Linked DNA regions of Homo sapiens: all the other regions are linked to region 2. Evidence: promoter capture Hi-C in human tissues and cell types (Jung and others, 2019). All regions are on one chromosome and are shown on one strand. Each heading gives the region's core, a stretch centred on a gene start or on the middle of the fragment in contact. The rest is flanking DNA. Distances are from core to core; before and after follow the strand shown.

What was found. Contacts are between HindIII fragments. The study calls those that stand out against the background at their distance.
Region 1: a contact is called between a fragment that was not itself captured here and the fragment with the promoter of RUNX2 in region 2, in 1 of the 25 tissues and cell types used here (lymphoblastoid cells).
Region 3: a contact is called between a fragment that was not itself captured here and the fragment with the promoter of RUNX2 in region 2, in 1 of the 25 tissues and cell types used here (mesenchymal stem cells).

The regions. Positions count from the first base shown.
Region 1 is chr6:45,118,508-45,121,207 of GRCh38, reverse strand. All of the region lies in intron 2 of SUPT3H (SPT3 homolog, SAGA and STAGA complex component), which reads left to right. Among named protein-coding and RNA genes, the nearest start is that of MIR586, 78 kb to the left of the region's middle. The HindIII fragment of the contact is 4,688 bases long and covers 1-2,700 here.
Region 2 is chr6:45,327,058-45,329,757 of GRCh38, reverse strand. RUNX2 (RUNX family transcription factor 2) reads right to left here and starts at 1,428. Exons shown (of 9, transcript NM_001024630.4): 1 at 1,298-1,428; 2 at 974-1,097. The coding sequence starts at 1,031. All of the region lies in intron 2 of SUPT3H (SPT3 homolog, SAGA and STAGA complex component), which reads left to right. RefSeq lists an enhancer at 1,659-1,699 and a promoter at 1,106-1,746. The HindIII fragment of the contact is 4,056 bases long and covers 1-2,700 here.
Region 3 is chr6:45,079,764-45,082,499 of GRCh38, reverse strand. All of the region lies in intron 3 of SUPT3H (SPT3 homolog, SAGA and STAGA complex component), which reads left to right. Among named protein-coding and RNA genes, the nearest start is that of MIR586, 120 kb to the left of the region's middle. The HindIII fragment of the contact is 4,235 bases long and covers 1-2,736 here.

The sequences.
Region 1 (2,700 bases), core at 176-2,675, 210 kb after region 2:
CTAGAGGTTATGGAAATCAGAGATCCTGGTTGTGGAGAGTTTCTGGGCCAAGATTTTTGTGGAATTTTTCTGTTTATCAAACTCTCTGGAAACAGTATATGAATGGTATTGGTGTCTTTATGCTGCAAGGAATATTTCCCTCTGAATATAATAATAATTACATACCTAGATAATCAACCTGTTCCAAAGTATCAATTTTAATCTCTGTGTAATATTTGTATTATAATCTATTAATAGTATGATGAAGTTAACCTATACTTATTATTGTTCTAATATTATTGTTCTAATATTGTTCAAATTTTAGCCTTGGGAAATTTTTGCATTGTTTAGTACAATTATTCCTGAACTTTATCTCAGAACCTGAGAAATTTCTATGTGATTTATGCATAAAGACACTATGGAGTTCCCCAGGTTTGTAGCTTTAATATTTACCCTTAATTCTTGAAACCTAAAAGCAAGATAAATTTCATGTGGCAAACAGCTATTTGCATGAATAGAGGAAGCCAGTTATTTGCTTTTGACTTGGAAGAATTTGTTCAGCCTTTTAATAGATTCCTTTTTTTGGTTATTGATATAGACATCATTTGTTGTTCAACTTCTTTAGTTTTCCTCTTAATCTTCTGAATTCAACTATTGTGGCATTTATATATTGGTTTGCATTTCTGCATGTACCACACTGGTTGTCAAAAAGTTATTTCCAATTTTATCAAAGTATCATCATCATCCTACTCCAGTCACCCTAACTTGGATATATGCTTATATAGTCTTTTTTTTTTTTTTTTTTTTTTTTAGACAAGGTCTCACACTGTTACCCAGACTGGATTTAAACTCTTGTGCTCAAGTGACCCTCCCTCCTCGACCTCCCAAAATCCTGGGATTATAAACAGAAGCCACCATGCCTAGCCTATATAGTCTTTTCACTTTTAAAATTTTCTTTATTGTGGTGGAAACTGAAATAAATTACTTCCGAAGTCTCTTCAGTTTCTATGAAAGACAATATTATAGAGCAGTTAGAGGGTTTTTGTTTGTTTGTTTTTTGTTTTTTTTAGTTTGCAGTCAGACTGATGGGATTTGGAATCTCGTTTCTGCCACTTATTAACTATGTTACTTGGGTAATTTAGTTAACCTCTTCAAGTCTTGAAGTAGCAATAGTAATAGTACTTACCTTTTAGAGTCATTTTGACATTTGAATCAGTTCAGTGGTGTCTAGCAAACAGTAAATCCTCAGTATGTATTATGGATATAATCGACTCATTGTCATTTTGTCATAACTATCATTATTAAACAGATTCTAAATTGTATATATTTTCAGACTCATTTTTTTCCTTTTCTTTTTTAAAAGTATTTGCTGCCTTTAAAAAAAATAAATCATTAATCTGGTTCCTTTTTGAATATTTTTTACTTGGCCCCAAATGCATACCAAGTTTAATGAAATTTCAAACATTTTTCCTTCTACATGTGAAAATCTTAAGTTTTCTAGGAATACACCCTTTGATTCTCTGCCCTGGCATCTTTTACTGCATAACCTAATTCCACTCTTTATTTGGTCCAAAGTGCTGCAATTATTGACTCTTTCCTGTTAACATTATGCCCACAAATCACATGAATTTGTGGCCATCTGTGCTCATCCAACAGGCAGCTATATACATATAATAAGCATATATTAAAGCCTATATGCTTAAGGTTTTAATCTGCTCTAACAGTATCTAGTTTGTGTGCCCACTGAACTTTCACAACATAGGGAAGGCTCCTTGTGGTCTGAGATAATAGTGGAATCAGTTGGGAGGTGAATCCGTCCTCATACCTTCTCTTCCCTAGACATACATTGAGTGCCCACATACAACTGGCATCTTCTTAGGTGCTCAGAATACAAATTTAAATAACAGGTGATTATTTTCCTCTAAATGCATAGGGGAGAATAGAGACAAATTAGTTCATGTAAAAGTATGACTATGTAACTACATAACTATACAACTATGTAACTATACTATGAGGAGGTTGTGAAGAGTGCTATGGAAGCATCTAGGAGTGGGATTTGTTATTTATTGCCACAATAATGCTGCATAACAAAACATTGTGAAACCTCAGCATTTATGATTATATGTCTATGACAGTAGATTAGACAACCCCACCAATCTCAGCTGTGCTCTGTTATCTATCTGAGGGTCAGCTGACTGCCAGCTGATCTATGATAACTCAACTACGATAACTGGGGTGACTGAGCTCTGCTTCATGTATCTCTAATTTTCCAGCAGATTAGCCTTGTCATACTTTCATGGCAGTGGCAGAGTGCAAGAGTGCAAGTTGAAATGCTTAAGCACTTCTTAGCCTCTGCTGCTAATAATATCCCATTGGCCAAAGAACATAACAGGGTTGAGCTCAGGGTTATAGTGCAGGGCTACTTAAAGTTACTTGGCAATGGGAATGAATATAATATGAGGTGAAAGGTGAGTTAGGGCAATCAGTGCAATATGCCTTAGAGCAGCAAATGAGTATTATGGAAAATTTCCCAAGGGTCGTACCCCTCGAACTAAGTTTGGAAGGCATTGGCTGAATGGAAGAAGAAACAAAGACTTATTTGACAGAGAAAATATCATGTACAAAAGTGAGAAGACCTGAAACCTATTGTGTGGTCAGCTGTCCATAGGGAGTTTGATATTTTAGGAACAAATGGTGCATGGCTAGAAATAAGGGTGGAAC
Region 2 (2,700 bases), core at 179-2,678:
CAGTAACTTGAAATTAAATATTAAGGGACAAGATTATGCCTACTTCTTTTAAAGTCCAGCATGGTTTAATAGTTGTGGCTTTTAAAAATCATACAGGGTATCCTTATGGAGCTTTATTTTTCATGAGACTAAACAGCAGTTATTCATTTTGGTAGGTCCAAGAATGTGATTAAAAGAATCTTAGACGTTTCAGTGTTTCAGTGTGTTTATAACAAGGTCTATGGATAACAGTGTGTAGATGTAAAATTAAAATTACATAGAAAAATGCAGTTGCATGTAAGTTTTAAAATACTTCCATGAACTTTTTAATATCCTGGGCAACTATAAAGATCTTTTAAAAATGGCTGTGATGTGCTTATCATAATTTTATTTCAGCTGAATGTATACTTATATAAAGTTGTTTAGAAACAAACTTATTTAGATAGGATACAGTTTGAATTTATAAGTAGATTTCTTTTAGTTGAGCTGGTTAAAATGTTAACTGTACTACAGGTTTATTTCTGTGTTATACATGGTAGACCATAATGTTGAGATAATTCTGTGGTCTGTTATTTTGTAAAATTGCTTCCTTTTTGAAGTTTGCTCAAATATTGGGAGCTGCCGGAGTCAATAATTTATAATGCTTTGATTAATTTAGGATCTGACTTTTCTTCTGGTGAGGGTTAATGAGAGTATTAAACTGTTTCTTTTACTGTTTTCATATCCTCACCTCTATAACTCTAGAAAACATTTTGATCAATGTGAGATAATTTAATTTTGTATATTTCAAGTCATTACTTTGAAAATTAGATACATTACAGATACCAAATGCAAATATATACAGAAATTTCATTTTTCAATTCTTAATGCAACAAGATAGCATAATTAGGATCTTTAATATGCTATTTGGAAAAGCTAGCAGTTTATCAAAGAATCATACCTTTATGTTTAACAGGTTCATATCTTACAGGATTTTAAAAATGGTAACACTTACCCCAAAAGAAGTTTTGCTGACATGGTGTCACTGTGCTGAAGAGGCTGTTTGATGCCATAGTCCCTCCTTTTTTTTTCAGATAGAACTTGTACCCTCTGTTGTAAATACTGCTTGCAGCCTTAAACTGAAAATACAAACCATACCCAAACCTTGTTTTAGTTTTACAGTATGCCTGGAGTACATAGACTTTATATTTATTTTTTTCTGTCAAGAAATTATGTAGCTGGTAACATGTGAAAAGCAAAGAAACAAAACAAAAAGAGAATGAGCAAATATTTGAAGGACCTACTATTACTGCATAGACTGTGGTTAGAGAGCACTCACTGACTCTGTTGGTCTCGGTGGCTGGTAGTGACCTGCGGAGATTAACCATTTAAAAACCAGAGACTTCTTGCTGTCCTCCTGGAGAAAGTTTGCACCGCACTTGTGGTTCTGTGGTTGTTTGTGAGGCGAATGAAGCATTCACACAATCCAAAAAAGCAAAAGCTTTAAAACTCCTTTTTTTTGCAAGCACTATTACTGGAGAGGCAGAATCATGTGGTTTGTGACCTCACAGTACTCTTAAGTAAAGTGGGACTGCCTACCACTGTGGCTTTTCCCCCTTGCTCTTTCTCTCTCTCTCTTTCTCTCACAAAAGGCTTGTGGTAAGGCCTTTCCTGGCATCCAGAAGGATATAGCTTTTTAATTTTTGTGACTCATGAGGATTTGGATAGAATACAAATGCTGAAGGAGCCCAAACTCCTGTAAGGTTAAGCATTTGTAGAGCAGAGCTCTGCAGTTAAGGGCTTTCCTTTCTACTCCCCGCTCAACCTCTGCCTTTTTGCCTCCTCTTTTTAGTTCATTATTGTGTCTGTGGAAAAATGAACAAAATTGGCTCAAGAGTCTGTGTGAAATTCTGAACAACAGTGATGATATACAATAATTCACATCTTTGGACTGTATCACATTCTGGGGTCTGCTTCATATTTGCTGGGTGGCTGGATTCCTTCTGTTTTCCTTTTTCTTGTCTTCTTAAACTTGTGAATCTGTAACTCATTGTAAAAAAAAAAAAAGTTTACCTTAAGGTCTGGTTGCAAACTGCTTGCTAGGCTTGACTATAATTGGCTGTCATGAAAGTGTTAGTCTGGGCATTCTTTTACAAATTTTAAATCACGTCTGTCTAGTTTATTATCAATCTATTAGATGGCGGCCTTTACAATAAAGATTAAATGTAATGTTTCATGTATACCATTATCTCATGCCTAGTTTGAAGATCTTAAAAAAATGAATGACAGGGATTGTAATATAGTTTATTGGATGAATCTTAGTTTTCTTTATGATTGTAATATTTTTTGTCTTTCATTGAAGTGTATTCAGTTTATATAGTTCTTTAAGTAGTTTAGACATTAATAGAGTTTCTGATAGCAGATCTTCTATAAAGTAAAATGCTTATGTTATAATGTAGATTGTTCAGTATTTGATTCTATGAGCTTAGAATAGAGTGGGTTAACAGAAGCTATGTATTTTTTTGTTTCTAATGGAAGCTTTGAAATAAATTACAAAATGCTGTGTGTAGTAAGGAATAATGCCCACAGACAGAGTATGTTAGTCGTCTCGATTTGCTAATTCTGATTCAGAAGAAAATTGGAAACATCTTTGGGAAACTATCTCCTTTTTTGCCCCTTTGGACAAGTATGTATAGAACTCATTTTCTTATTAGGATGATTATATATCATAGGCAGTGAATT
Region 3 (2,736 bases), core at 214-2,713, 250 kb after region 2:
CATATATGTTGAACAAACATTGCATCTCAGGAATAAAGCCTAATTGATCGTGGTCAGTTAACTTTTTGATGTGCTGCTGGACTTGGTTTGCTAGTATTTTGTTAATGATTTTTGTGTCTACAATTGTCAGAGATATTGGCCTGAAGTTTTCTTTTTGTTGTTGTTGTTGTGTCTTTGCCAGCTTTTGGCATCAGAGTGATGCTAGTTTCATAGAATGAGTTAGGGAGGAGTCCCTCTTCCTCATTTTTTTGGAATAGTTTCAGTAGAATTGATATCAACTCTTTGTATGTCTGGTAGAGTTCAGCTGTTAATCTGTCTGGTCTGGGGCTTTTTCTGGTTGGTAGGCTTTTTATTACTGATTTAATTCTGGAACTCAGTATTGGTCTGTTCAGAGTTTCAATTTCTTCCTGATTTAATATTGGGAGGTTATGTATTTCCAGGAATTTATCCATTTCCTCTAGATTTTCTAGTTTGTGTAAAATGCCATAGATGTGGCACTTTCTTTATTTGCAAGTTGATTGGCTTTATTTAAATTGCTTATTTTATTTAGAAGCCCAAATGAAATAAAACTAATGCATTGCATTTTCATGTAACTGAGTGAAAGTTCACTTGATTTTTTCCCCCTATTTTTTCCAGGCTCAAAAATTGGCTGAAATTGCTGAGCAGGCAGTTCTTTTAGAATTGTTTCTGTCAATATTTTATCAGGCCCAAGAGTAAAATATTCTGCAGCTACTGCAGTGTTTTTATTGCCACTCTTAAGGTAGAACCCTGTTAAATGGTGTATAAGTATGTGGATTCAGATATGATAGAAAATCCTGTTTCCACAATTATAGTGTATATATAAGACGTAGAGTTAGATTGGATGGTGATTTCTAGCCACAGAGGAGCTCTATCATTCATTCACTCATCAAAGACTTATTGATAAATGTGGCAACCATTGTTTTAGGTACTGGGGATATAATGGTATATACAAGAAAGTCTCTTCTCTAATGGAGCTTATATTTTGGTATGCAAGAAGGACAATAAGTAAATGAATAAATAGTATCACATAGTGTTAACTACTATGAAGGAAATAATCTAGGACAAGGACTGGGAGTAATAATGTTAGATTACCTCAGAGAAGATGATACATGAGCAAAGAATTAAATAATGTGAAGGAGAATACCATGTATTAACAGGGAGTATAAAGGTACTGAGATTGGAATGTACTCCAGAAACAGAAATATCAGTATTTCTGGAGTGAAGTGAGTTAAGGATCAAATGGGACGAGCTGAAATGTAAAAGTAAGATAGGGACCAGATTATGTAGGCATTGTTTTTCTCTCTGTCAATTTCACTCTCTTTGGCTTTGTTCAGGAGAGAAGGTTTTGTTTATTTATTCATTTAATTTCTTAATTTTTAAATTCTTGTGGATACATAGTTGTATATATATATGTACATATATACGTATATATGTACATATATATATGGGATATATGAGATTTTCTGATACAGGCATAAAATGGATAGTAATTTTATCAGGGTAAATGAGGCATCCATCACCTCAAGCATTTGTGCTTTCTACTGCAATCCATTTATACTCTTAGTTATTTTTACAGCTATAGTTAAATTATTATTGATTGTAGTCACTCTGTTCTGCTGTCACATACTAGACCTTATTTATTCTTTCTGTTTTTTGTACCCATTAACCATCCCCACTTTACCTCCACTTCTTCATTTCCCTTCTCAGCCTCTGGTAACCATCTGTCTACTCTCTGTGTCCATGAGTTCAATTGTTTTAATTTTTAGCCTCCATAAATAAGTGAGAACAAGTGAAGTCGGTTTTTGTGTGCCTGGCTTATTTCACTTAATGACCTCCAGTTCCATCTATGTTGTTGCAAATAACAGAATCTTTTTTTTTTAATGGCTGAATAGTACTTCATTGCGTATATGCCACATTTTCTTTATTCATTCTTCTGTTGATGGACACTTATGTTGCTTCCAAATCTTTACTATTGTGACTAGTAAACACGGGAATGCAGATATCTTTTCAATATATTGATTTCCTTTTTTCTGGGATATACCTAGCAGAGGTATATCTGGATCATATGGTAGCTCTGTTTTTAGATTTCTGAGGAACCTCCAAACTGTTCTGCGTAGTGATTGTACTAATTTACATTCAAACCAACATGTATGAGAGTTCCCTTTCCTCCACATTCTCACCAATATTTGTTATTGCCTTTTGGATAAAAGCCATTTTAACTGGGGTGAGATACTACCTCATTTTAGTTTTGATTTGCATTTCTCTGACGATCAGTTGTAAAGCACTTTTTCATATACTTGTGTACTGTTTGTCTTCTTTTGAGAAATGTCTCTTCAGATCTTTTGCCCATGTTTTAATCAGATTATTAGATTTTTTCCTATTGAATTGTTTGAGCTCCTTATATATTCTGGTTATTGAACCCTTGTGAGATGGATAGTTTACAAATATTTTCTCCCATTTTGTGGGTTGTCTCTTACTTTGTTGATTGTTTCCTTTGCTGTGCAGAAGCTTTGCAATTTGATGTAATCTCATTTGTTCATTTTTACTTTGATTGCCTATGCTGGTGGGGTATTACTCAAGAAATCTTTGTCCAGTCCAATGCCCTATAGAGTATTCCTAGTGAGTTCTATGAATAGTTTCATAGTTTGAGGTCTTAGATTTAAGTCTTTAATCCATTTTGACTTGACTTCTGTACATGGCAAGAGATGTGGGTCT